Linked DNA regions of Homo sapiens: all the other regions are linked to region 3. The links are contacts of gene promoters, found by promoter capture Hi-C in blood cells and fetal thymus (Javierre and others, 2016). All regions are on one chromosome and are shown on one strand. Each heading gives the region's core, a stretch centred on a gene start or on the middle of the fragment in contact. The rest is flanking DNA. Distances are from core to core; before and after follow the strand shown.

Region 1 (3,073 bases), core at 27-2,526, 200 kb after region 3:
CAGGAAGAAAAAAAAAATCTCCAGGGTGCAAAAGAAGAGAGAGAGAGGTAAAGACAGTATTTATAGAAAAACATTTAGTTAAAGTACTGAAATCCTGCAAAAAAGAATAGCTTTTGGTATTTTCCATACTGAACATTAATGCATTTTGCAAACAATTTTCCCGGTTTCAGTAGTAGCCAATTCTTTTTTTACCTCTTTTTAGGTAAATCCCACTAAAACAGTACATTTAATCTTGATGTGACAAAGCAAGTTACTCATCTAAATAAGGACCCTGATTTTATTTAGTTTTACTGATTTTATGTAGAAAAACATTAGAGCTACAAATCCTCATAACAATGAAAACAACATGTGAAAGTCAAACTTGTCTTGAATTTCTGTACTAATCCACACATCTCTGCACCCTAAGGCAACAAAAGATACTGATACAGAACTATGAGCAAAAATCAGGCTGGATGCGGTAGCTCACACCTGTAATCCCAGCACTTTGGGAGGCCAAGGTGGGTGGATGGCTTGAGCTCACAAGTTCAAGACCAGCCTGGGCAACATGGTAAAACCCCATTTCTACAAAAACATACAAAAATTAGCTGGGCATGGTGGCGGGCACGTGTAGTCCCAGCTACTAGGGAGGCTGAGGTGGGAGAATCACTTAAACCCAGGAGGCAGGGGTTGCAGTGAGCCAAGATTGCACCACTGGGCAACAGAGTGAGAGACACTGTCTCCCAAAAAAAACAAAACAAAACTAAGCAAAAATCAAGAGACATATATCACATACTAGTACGCAGAACCAAAACAGGTAATTTATACTGTGGCCTAAATCCTCCTGAACTATAATCGGATCACAAAACCTTTATACTCATTCTCATAAAGCTAAACTCCTGACAATAGAAAACAGCTTGCATTTTATCTTTATGTACAGAAACTTAAGCAAGTTCACCCTATATCTTAAGGCTCAATGGGCAAACATTCCTAAGAAGAATATGTTAATCTCACAAGCATTTATCTGCTTAAACTGAACTTGATTCTATGGTATAACTCATCACAAATTATATAATATAAAGACAATGTATGACATCAACGAATATGGAAGGAAGCTTATCAAAGCAATGTTTCAATTCATAAGCAATCACATTTACAACAACAAAATTAGGTAAATTGTTTCCTTCAGGTGTTTTGCATTTTTATAGAAAATAACAATTCTATGGAGCAGAAAACCTGGATACTGTTCTTTCACCTAGAAGAATGTATAGCTGTGTCTTGAACATCTACAACTGTTGAAACAAGTTTAATGTTATTGGAAAGCCTGTGGTGAGCTTAAGGCAGAAAACAATGTTTAAGGTATTCTAGTCCTATCCTATGGTAAAATGGTTATTTAAATGTGCATTTGCACAGCTGCTTAACATATGAGTTTTTTTAATTAATAAACCAAGAGTATGCTCCCTAAGACTGTGTATGTTCTTCTAAATAAGCTTCTATATCACTAAAATTCTAAAGCGTATTCCTCAGAGCATCCACATGGGGAAGGTTATATTGATCAGTTACTCTGATGCACTACTCCATTGTTAAGCTTACAAAGAAATGCTCAGAAACAAATAGATCAGAATTAGGATGCTCACTTTCATGGCCATTCATTTTATATATTATTTTTAATTTTTTAGAGATAGGATATCACTCTGTTGCCCAGACTGGACTGCAGTGGCACAGTCAACAGCTCCCTGTAACCTCAACTCTTGGCCTCAAGTGATCCTCCTGCCTCAGCCTCCCAAGTAGCTTGGACTACAGGTGTGTGCCACCACACCTGGCTGTTTTTTTTAAAATTTCTTGTAGAGACAGGGGTCTCACTGTGTTGCCCAGGCTGGTCTTGAACTCCTGGCTCCAGTGATCCTCCCACATCAGCCTCCCAAAGTGCTGGGATTAGGGGCATGAGCCACTGTGTCCAACCATTTGAGAAAAGTGATCCTGAGATGGGAATTTTCTCAGCAAATCTTCAATAAATGCAAGACTATGCATTTTTTTAAAAAAGAAATCAAGTTTTGGGCCAGGTGCAGTGGCTCATACCTGTAATCCCAGCACTTTGGGAGGCTGAGGTGGGCAGATCACCTGAGGTCAGGGGTTCGAGCCCAGCCTGGCCAACATGGCGAAACCCTGTCTCTACTAAAAATACAAAACTTAGCTGGGCGTGGTGGCATGCGCCTGTAATCCCAGCTACTCAGGAGGCTCAGGAAGGAGAATCACTTGAACCCAGTAGGCGGAGGTTGCAGTGAGCCCAGGTTGTGCCACTGCACTCCAGCCTGGGTGACAGAGCAAGACTCTGCCTCAATTTAAAAAAAAAAAAAAGAAAGAAAGAAATCAAGTTTTGGTGATTCTTACTATTCAATACTCTTAGATTCATTAGTACAGAAGGGCTTTTACCTTTGTGTTAACAATGAGAAATGGCTGGGCGTGGTGGCTCATGCCTATAATCCCAGCACTTTGGGAGGCCAAGGTGGGCAAATCACCTGAGATCAGGAAATCAAGATCAGCCTGGCCAACACAGTGAAACTCCATCTCTGCTAAATATGCAAAAATTAGCTAGATGTGGTGGCACGCACCTGTAATCCCAGCTTCTTGGGAAGCTGAGGCAGAAGAATCACTTGAATCTGGGAGGTGGAGGGTGCAGTGAGATCACGCCACTGCACTCCAGCCTAGGCAACAGAGCAAGACTCTGTCTCAAAAAAAAAAAAAAAAAAAAAAAGCCAATGAGAAAAAAACAGGGCATTATGTAAAAGAGGAAAGAAGAACACCACAACTATAACAAAGAAACTTAAGCTGGTACTCTGTAGGACTACAATCACATCCACAATACTCAAATCAAATCTCTGGTACTGAGATTTCACTTTTAATACCCCTGTTCAAGATATTTTATTGAAGAAGCTATAAATTTATTGCTGGTTTATCTTCACTGGCTGGATTTCACAAAACAAATACCCGACCTCGCCCCAAAAAAAGAAAAGGTAGAGACACTAAGGTTATTGTTTTTAAGGTGAGATAATTTTAAGCTTAAAAAGATGAGGCATATTTAAGACTTAAATCTAAA
Region 2 (3,009 bases), core at 37-2,536, 190 kb after region 3:
ATTTTTAGTAGAGATGAGGTTTCACTATGTTGGCCACGCTGATCCATTTGCTGAGTTTGTTTTTTAAACTCACTAACATAACTATTCGGTTTCTCCTTCATATTTAAGTGCCTTACAGACTGAAATAATTAAAAATATTTTTTCAGTTCATTACTCTGATAGAACAGTAAATCTGATAGACAACAAATTTCCTTAGCTTTGGTCTAGATCATCCATTATAGGATCCATAAATCACATTCAAATGAGCAATAAGGGTACCAGGAAAAGGAATGAAAAAAGGCTACATCTTTGAGTGTTTTTATGTAATGTACCTAAAGAGAGGATGCATCCCATTCCTTCAAAAGTGTACTTTTTGTAAATCAGTCATATACATAGTATAGAGTGAAGAGGGTAAAGTTTAAAAAATAATTGGGAGAGAAGTACTGGCAGCAAAATACCCATAATATAGTTACCTTCTAATTAGAAAATTATCACCTGGCTCTCAACTATCAGACACTCTTGTGCAGGAACGTCACTGCCCTGATATCTACCCATCTGCTTTTTAAATGTACTATATATATGAAAATACAAGCACTGGAGGACATTGAAAGAGCAACAAAAATGATTCTTTTTATTGTGTAAGAGAAATGTGGAGGCCTTCAAACACACACACACACACACACACACCATGGAGCAGGGGGGAAGGGAGCAAGTTAAATATATTTTAATACTCCTAAAAATCCCGTTAGGCTTAGAAGTCCCAAGAAAAACTATGCATATGTGACACAGGGATGGAAGCAAGCACTTTGCTCATTTCTGCATCAGTGCACACACTCTACACTGGGGTCACCTGTGAGGGAACTAAAGGTTTTCCCTTAAGATCACAATACATTTCAGGATCTAACAATTCTGATTAACAGCCAAGGCAGTGAAGAATGCCTACAGACTTACTATTTGTTTAAGCTTCTGTATTCAGGGAATGAACTGTGACACAACTGAGCCACCAACTGCTACATTTTTTAAATGGAGCTTTTAAAGAACACAATGGGTTTTGAAATAAAGCTCAACTCTTACCACACCTCTTTCCATATTAGTTTCTGCACTAAATGACTGGGTCAAGGAGGGCTGGCTACAGGCAGAGTGGATTTCATAAATCACCATCCCCTCTTAAATGCGTGCTTCACCTTTTTACTATTTTAAGTATGATTTTCTCAGGTTAAAAAAACTTTTCCCCAAAAGCTGCACACATGGAACCTGCTTTTCATCAGAACTCTGTAAAAACTGCTTTGTGAGCCTCTCTGTAACTGCTTTTCATATACTTCATTAAGTATTCAAGTTTCTCAACACAACCACTCATTTTAACATTTTAATGCCAGTCTTGCTCATTAAACTATTTTGTGGTAGTTTTTCTCAGTTTAATAGTGAAATGTATGAAAGCACTGATTCCACAGAGAAGAAGGCTTTCTCCTCTTGGTCCACAAGCTGACAGATTAATTGCTTATTAAATATACACTTTCAACCCACAATTATCTCTTTCACACACACCCTTCTGGAAATTCTATCTCAGGAGCAAACTACAACTTTGCCCAAATTCAGATGACAGCTGCAGTTTTAGGGGAACACAATCTGGGGCTGCCAGTGCAGTCAGCCTTCAAGCTTTGTGCCTGTCAGATAAAAGAACAAAAGGCAGTGCTTCCTCCCTCAGCCCCTCCTTAGCGCTGGAGGACGGCAGGCTTGACAGAACAGTTCCAGAGAAAAAGGAACCATGCTGAAGCAAGTGAGAGTTTCCCCTCCACAAACATAGAAAACTACCAACCCACCTTGGATAGCTGCCTCCTGAGGCTAAAGCGCTGAACCATGATCACCCAGAGGATCTTCAGACAAAGCAATCCACGAAGGGTTTTTTAAATAACAGCTTCTTGGGAAAGTCGGTGGCAGAACATTTTGAAGACTGCCAGAGAAGTGCAAAGAATTTCCCTGGGAGTCTTAGCAAACTTGGAAAGCCTTCATTGTTCTATCAAGAGATACTGGAAAACCTACGTGGGAGAGGGCAGGGTGGGTGGGGCAGTAATCCTGAAGCCGCTGTGCCCAGTGCCAAGCTCTTCTAGCACTTCCTGTGAGTCAGCTGTGAGGGGTCCAAACACAAGGACCACCCCTTCCCTTTCCACCAGACCAGTAGGCGAGGATGCCGCTGTGGTGCTACCTGAAACTCCAGAGGACAGACCTGATGTTCCGGTCTCTGTGGGAGGAGGAGTGGTGTGCTGGGGTCAGACAGCATCTGCTCCAAGTAGGAGACAGGCAACTGCACCAATTCCTCCCCTCTTCAGCCGTCCCAGCAGCAGAGAGTGTCCACTGCAGACAGCAACGCACCCTTCTCTACCTCCACCTTAGGTAATCCTTTAAGGTGAGGCAGTGTGAAAAAAAAGGAGGTGGTGAAAAGCAAGCCCCTGGCTGTACCAGCTCCCTGCTCAAGAAGGAAACTCCTCCCAGCTGGGCTCGGCAGCTGTGCGGCTTTGTCTAGCATAATTGGCCAAGCCTTTCCTCTTATTCACAGGGAGGGGTCCTGCCTCAGGAAGGAATGTCAGGTGCAGAGAGGCATACTCCGACGGTGACTTCAACTTGTGCCAAAGTTAAACACATTAAAGTGGCCTCCTGAGGTAATTGCCCTCTCTTGTTGGAATGAAGTAATTTTTTAAAATCTACACACAAAACAAAAGGAACAGCTCAGAGTGAATCAATGCAGGTAAAGAGGTATGAAAAATAACTGTAAGAGCAGTTCCAAAGATAAAAATATTCCTATCTTTGCCACTCTTCCTCTGTTTGGGTCTGCTTCCAGACAACCACTGTGAGGATAACGTTTCATTTAATGAAACTTTCCAGTCTATGTGCTCCTCTTGGAATTGTTCATTACTTCTGAATGAATTTAGTACTGTTTAGGGCAGAACTCATTCGTATATTTTTTTTCCCTGTTCCAGTGTCTCTCAATTTCCTGTGAGCAAAGTTATGTCATATGCTACATTTAAAGCCTTT
Region 3 (3,326 bases), core at 168-2,667:
GTTCCCGCCCGCCCCCGCCCCCGCCCCCGCCGCCGCCGCCGCCGCCGCCGCCGCCACCGCCCGGGTGTACCTGGATGTTGAGCTTGCGCTCACAGGCCGGTCCCGTGCCCTGCACCACGCTGTCGAGCACCGCCACCACGTCGGGCGCCGGTTCCACGAAGCAGGCGGTGCGCGCAGCTCGGATGGCGGCTCGCACGTCGGCGAAGCGGAAGGCGCAGAGTGCGGCCGGAGCAGCGCGGGCCGCGGGGGACCCCTGGGGCCGCTCGAAGACAGCAAAGAGCCGCTCCCGGGCTGGGAAGACCGACACCAGGCGGCTGTAGAGGTCGCCGCGGCCCGCGCCGCCCGCGCACTGCAAGCCCAACTGGATGTAGGACTCGGTGAGCTTCTTGGCGTCGCCGCCGGCGCCGTGGGGCAGGCAGATGCGCGCCAGCAGGCTCCGCGCCTGGCTCTCCTTGTCGCCCGCGCGCGCCTCGCTGTTGAGCGCCAGGTACGCGTAGGACTGTGCACCCGGCGGCGGGTCGGACGGGTGCAGGAAGGCGCTCACGAAGCCCAGCTTGTGCTGCTCCTTGGCGCCCTGCTTGATCTTGAGGATGTTGTCGTCGGAGGGGTTGAGGTCGAAGGTGAAGAGCTTGGCCAGGTCGCCGCGCGTGTCCAGGGAGCGGATGGCGATCTCGGGCGTGTTCTCGAAGCGGTGGTCCTCCAGGCTGCGGTTGCGCGGGAAGAAGGAGCTGCCGTAACCGGTGTACGTGGCGCCCACGAGCAGGCGGCTGCCCCCCGCGCCCGCGGCGGGAGGCAGAACTAGCCCCACGGTGGACGCGTTCGGGTGGTTGGCCGCCACGTTCAGCATGCTGGGGAACACCGTGACGGGCTCGGCGGGCGGCGCGGCGGGCGGGAAGCGCACGGCCACGGCCGAGATGTTGCCCCGGCGCCGCAGCTGGCAGAAGCCCTGGTAGATGGACCCGCACACGACTACCAGGCCCTGGCCGGGGTCCAGCTGCAGGATCTTGTTGTAGTTGTCCGTGAGGCGCCGCGGGTGCTCGCACGAGGCCTGCGGCAGCTGCGGAGCGTGACACAGCGGGCTGTCGGGCACCGGGCCCACGGCCGCCTCGGCCTCCAGGCTCAGGTTGGCGCCCGACAGCTGATAGAGGCGGTTGACGGCCGCCAGGTACACGGTCCCCGCCGCGCCGTCCAGGGCGAAGTTGTTGGTGGGCGTGGGCGAGGGGAACCGACGCTGGATCTCCAGGGCGCCGGCCCGCGCCGCCCCCAGGAGCAGCAGCAACAGCAGCGGCACCGGGCACCGCGGCGGCGTCTGGAACGGCGGGGGGCTGGCGGCGGCGGCCCGGGCGCTAAGGGGTGCGCCGCCCGCGGCGCGAGGAGCCATCCGGGCGTGCGCGGGCTGCGCGGCGCGGCGAGTGCATGGGGCGAGGCGCGGCCGGGAGCCGGGAGCCCGGAGGCGGCGGGAGGCGGGGGGCGGGCCCGGGCCGCGATGCGCTTCCTGCCCGCGCCAGCCGCCCCCGACCCCGGCGCCCGGGCCCGGGTCAGCCTCGCCGCGCAGCCCGGGGGCGGGGCGGGGGCGGCTCCGCTGCGGACACGCCCTCACTCCCCGCCCCGGCCCCGCCCGCCCCCGGGACCCCCGCCTGCCCCTGGCCGCCCTGGGCCACGCCCCGCCGTCCGCGGGTCCCGCCGCCCGCGCCCTCCAGGACCCGCCCGCGGCCCCAGGGTCCCTCCCCGTAGCCGCCGCCGCCGTCGCTCGCTCTCCTCGCTCTTTCCTCCCACTTGGCCGCTTGGCCTGCCTCGCTCGCGCCTGTTTTCTCTTTTCCGCCCTCTCCCCCACCCCGTCTCTCCCTCTCTCTGCGTCTCTCGGTCTCTGCGTCTCTCCGTCTCTGTCCCCACCCCAAACTCCGCGCGTGTGGCGCTTCTCCGGGTTCTGCCTCTGCTTCTCCTTCTCCCTCCGACTCCGCTTCGCTCTCCAGTCCCTGGCAGCCCCGCCCCCGGCCCTTTCTAGTCTCCTTCTCTCTCCTGCTCCGTTTTTCCGTCCCTGACGCTCGCTCCCTCTCTCCGTGGCTCCCTCTGCCTCCCCCTCGGACCCTCCGTCCCTCTCTCGGTCCCTCTGAGCTCCCCTTTCCTTCTCCCTCTGCCTTCCCGAACCCTGTGTCTCCCCTCCACACTCAGCCTCCCTCCACCACCTTTCTCAGGCACTGTCCAGGCCTTCGCTCCCCCGGTGCCGGCCAGTCGGGCCCCCCAGACCCCATAATCTGTCCCCCAAACCCCAGACCCATAAAAGGGATTTACAAGTGGCAGGGCCAGAGGGACCAGTGCTCAGGGTCAGATATATAAATGAGGAAAACATGGAGAGAGGAAATAGTTCCAGCCAGTGGCCCACAACCGATAGCCAGAGCAAGGCCTTGGTCCTGGAGCCCACAGTTGCCTCCTGTGGAGACCCAGCCGCACCCCCACCCCTGGCACCCCCGCCAGGCACTTTCCCTGACATCCTCCCAGGCTTAGTGGAAGATTAGTCCCACAAAAGCCGGCACTGGGCAGGGTTCTTGATCTCAAAAGCAGCGTTAGGGGCAGGCAGCCTGGTTCCAAGGTCACAGCCCTGTGAGGACCATGCGCCGTGGCTGTTTTGCGGGGGTGCTCACACAGGGCTAGCCCGTGCCAGACACTGTGCCAAGCACTTGCCATGTACGGGCTCTCTTTTTCCTCACAGATTCCCCCGAGGCGAGCGCTATTGGTAACCCATCTTCCAGATATGGAAACCAAGGCTGAGGGGAAGGGACTGGCCCAAGATGCACAGCTCATGAGGAGCAGAGCTACAGTGTTTGAAAGCAAAAGCCCTTCAGCTCCGACCTCTCAGAACGGGGCCTCCCATCAGACCCCCAGCTTCCACAGGGTGCCCGGTGGGCCTCACTCTGAGAGTAGCGGGACCTCATTTTCCTCTTTCCCACCCAACCAGGAAGGAAGGGCAGGGGTGTCTGTGCACCATGGGGCCGGCAGGAAAGGCTGGGCCTGCAGCCGCCCCCCACTTCCCTCAACACCCTCGCCTTCCTGCCATCCTGCCCGCCTTGTTCCAGACCCCTCAGCCCTGGTCTGGCCACTGCTTTGATGGCCGGGAGTGTTGAGCTGCAGGAAATTGGAGGCCCCCTCCCAGGCCCATCCACCCACCAAGAGCCACTCAGGGGACTGCCCGTGGGACTGTGTCCCTGTCTTCCTCTCTGGATGGAGAAGGCGCACATCGTGCCACCCGTGGGGGCCAACTGCAGAGCCCAGCAGGGGTGCATGGGGCCTGCCTCCATGCCCCTCCTCCTCACTCACATCCTCAGTGC
Region 4 (3,125 bases), core at 356-2,855, 230 kb after region 3:
AAAGAACAAAAATACATAATCAAGAGCATATACTTGGGAGTCACAGGGTTCCAAGGTTCTTGTACTGTCCAAGAGTGTAAAAGCGGCAAGCAATCTGCAATATGTTTTTAAAAAGTGTATTTATTTAAAAAATCCAAAGTGCAGAACCATGTATATATCATGCTACTACTTTTAAAGGAGTGAGTACATACTGCATATGCACAGACTATTTCATTCTGGAATGGTGGACAGGTAACTGGTAACTAATGTTACTCCAGAGGGAAAACAAACACACTAAATAGAAAGGAGAAAGAATTAAAATACTCAAATCCAAAAAAGAAGAGAGAACAAGATTACAGAACAAATAAAACATATTTAAGCAGCAAAATATAAGATGTCAAACATAAATTCAAATAACTCAGTAATTACATTAAATGTAATTGGACCAGATGACAAAAATCAATTTTTAAAAAAAAATTAATCAAGAATCACACTTAAAATTACAGAAAATAGTTCAAAGTATGGGAAAAAGTCATACTAACAAACTGAAACACAGCTGCTCTAGCTGTATTAATTGTATTCAAAGTAGACTTCAATGCACAAAAGCCATTAATACCTATAAAGGTATAATTTATCAGGAAGATGCAACAATTTTAAATTTGTATGCATGTAATAACATAGCCTCCAAATATATAAAGCAAAACAGCAGAATTATAAAGAGAAGTGGGAGAAAAAATCCATAATCATAATAAATTTTGTATTCTTCTCAGTAGGTGATAGAACAAATGACTCAAATAAAGGGAGAGGGTAGAAATATAGATTTGAATAGCATGAACAAACTGGACCTAAATAAGACATTAATATGACACAGCATCCAATAATTGCAAAATATACTCTTTCAAGCAGAAAGAGATCATTTACAAAAATTGACCATATGTTGAACCCTAAGGCAAGTCTCACAAATTTTAAAAAAACTGAAATAATACACAGTATATTCTCTGACCACAATGTGGATTCCTGAGGTTCAAAAAGAGCTGGGAGGAAATCACTTTTTCCTTTTTTGTTTACTGCTATCCCAGCCTCCAGGCAATACAACATTTATGGAGCAACAGCTAAGGCTAGACAGGCACCTAAAAGCCTTGTCTCTGACCAAAGGAAACAGTCCCAAGAGCATGGAAGAATCCCAGTGCAGATAGGAAGATTAAACCAAAAATTCTGACAAACTGCTGAAGACTGAATGTAGGTTAGAATCAGAGTGTGAAGTCCTCGAGGGCTGCAATCATAGGAGAGTTCCCATCCTCTTGTGGGCTTTTCCTCCAGGAACCTCAAAAGGCTCTCTAATGCAGGGGGAAGCAGAGAGGAAGTAGAGAAAGCTCCTCCATCTCCACCCCCGTGGAGCTAATGAGGGAAGAGCAAGCAACAATACCAAACCAGCCTATTTCCCTTATCTCCCTGTGGAACAAAAGGCTTAATCAGCAAGGAGCAATTTCTGGTGGAATCCCACTACAGCTGGAGGAAGGAAAGGAAGCTGACACCCAATTTTCACCCTTATCCATCTTCACTGTTTCTCTAAAACAGCAATAGCCTTAAATGCAGGCGGAAAGAGCTGAAAAAAACCTTAGCTTGAGGATACTATTGAATCCCCATAGCAGTTGGGAAAAAGAAGGGAATAGTCTTCTGAAGGCCACACCCCCAAGACCCAGGTTCTACTATCTGCATAAATCTGAGGCTTAACCAGAACATCACAGAACTCCCCTCACCCTCCACTAACTGACAGGCTTTGAGTAAAAACAATGGAATACACCTGAGAAAGCTGCAAGACTCAGACTCTCACGGAGAAACAGCACAAAGGGAAAACCCAAAGCCAAGCAGGAAGACAAGAACAAGGTATTACTGGGAAAATTTGAAGCCTCTAGTTCCCATGGCAACAATAAATGTCAACTCCAGTAACCATTGCAATAATAAACATCAAACACAGCCCAATGCCTGAACAGATTAACACAAATCTCCACCCTAAAGGACTTGCAGGAAACTAGCAGTCTTCAGTAAGCATATCAAGCATATACCTCAGTATCTCCTGTCATATACAGCACATTCAGCTTTAAACAAAAATTATGAAGCATGGCAAAGGCAGTAATAAAAACACAGCTCAAAGGGACAAAGCAATTATCAGAGCCAGACCCACGTATGACATAAATTTTGGAACTACAAGACAGTAAATTAGAACGTGATTAATACAGTAAAAACTCTAATGAAAGAGGTAGACAACATATGAGATCAGACAGGTAATTTCAGAGATAAATGAAAATTATAAAAAATCAAGTGGAAACCAAATTAGAAATAAAGACATAGTAATGACAAATGCCTTTGAGAGGCTTATCAAGTAGACTTGAAACAGCTGAAAAAAGAATCAGTAAACTTGAAAATAGGCTAGTAGAAACTACCCAAACTGAAATATAAAGAGAAAAGAGATTTTCCCACCTGGAGAACATACAACAGCTGTGGCAGAAGTCCAGAAGAAGAGACAACAGAGAAGAAACATTTGAATGGCCAAGAACTTACCGAAATTAGTGATAAGACACTAAACTACAGAGTAACAATAAGAAACTCTGAAAACAGGCTGGGCATGGTGCCTCATGCCTATAATCCCAGCACTTTGGAAGGCTGAGGCGGGAGGATGGCTTGAGCCCAGGAGACCAGCCTGGGCAGCATAGGGAGACCTCATCCCTAAAAATAAACAAAAAAATCAGCCGGGAATGATGGCACATGCCTGTGGTCCCAGCTACTTGAGAAGCCTGGGCCCTGGGAGGACTGCTTGGGCCCTGGAGGTCGAGGCTGCAAAGAGCCGTGAGCGTCCCACTGCATTCCAGCCTGGATGACAGGGCAAGACCCTGTCTCAAAAAATAAAAGAAAAAGAAAAAAAGAAAAAGAAACTGAAAATGCCAAACAATACCAAAAAAGGGGGCTGGGCACGGTGGCTCATGCCTGTAATCCAACACTTTGGGAGGCCGAGACGGGCAGATCACAAGGTCAGGAGTTTGAGACCAGCCTGACCAACAGGGTGAAACCCCGTCTCTACTAAAAATACAAAAATTAGCCAGGTGTGGTGGTGCGTGCCTGTAATCCCAGCTACTCAGGAGGCTGAG

What was found. The method cuts DNA at HindIII sites, captures the fragments that hold promoters and counts their contacts. A CHiCAGO score of 5 or more calls a contact.
Region 1: a contact is called between a fragment that was not itself captured here and the fragment with the promoter of PLXND1 in region 3, in 5 of 17 cell types (M2 macrophages, M1 macrophages, M0 macrophages and 2 more). The highest score is 9.7, in M2 macrophages.
Region 2: a contact is called between a fragment that was not itself captured here and the fragment with the promoter of PLXND1 in region 3, in 4 of 17 cell types (M2 macrophages, M0 macrophages, endothelial precursors and 1 more). The highest score is 7.9, in M2 macrophages.
Region 4: a contact is called between a fragment that was not itself captured here and the fragment with the promoter of PLXND1 in region 3, in 5 of 17 cell types (M2 macrophages, M0 macrophages, M1 macrophages and 2 more). The highest score is 18.1, in M2 macrophages.

What each region holds. Positions count from the first base shown.
Region 1 is chr3:129,809,629-129,812,701 of GRCh38, forward strand. The region is part of intron 4 of TMCC1 (transmembrane and coiled-coil domain family 1); the gene reads right to left. Among named protein-coding and RNA genes, the nearest start is that of TMCC1, 83 kb to the right of the region's middle. The HindIII fragment of the contact is 375 bases long and covers 1,090-1,464 here.
Region 2 is chr3:129,792,525-129,795,533 of GRCh38, forward strand. All of the region lies in intron 4 of TMCC1 (transmembrane and coiled-coil domain family 1), which reads right to left. Among named protein-coding and RNA genes, the nearest start is that of TMCC1, 100 kb to the right of the region's middle. RefSeq lists an enhancer at 1,779-2,978. The HindIII fragment of the contact is 693 bases long and covers 941-1,633 here.
Region 3 is chr3:129,605,259-129,608,584 of GRCh38, forward strand. PLXND1 (plexin D1) reads right to left here and starts at 1,418. Exons shown (of 36, transcript NM_015103.3): 1 at 71-1,418. The coding sequence starts at 1,381. RefSeq lists enhancers at 1-654, 1,647-2,639, 2,640-3,326 and silencers at 1,377-1,436, 1,587-1,746. The HindIII fragment of the contact is 18,333 bases long and covers 1-3,326 here.
Region 4 is chr3:129,835,532-129,838,656 of GRCh38, forward strand. The region is part of intron 2 of TMCC1 (transmembrane and coiled-coil domain family 1); the gene reads right to left. Among named protein-coding and RNA genes, the nearest start is that of TMCC1, 57 kb to the right of the region's middle. The HindIII fragment of the contact is 3,955 bases long and covers 1-3,125 here.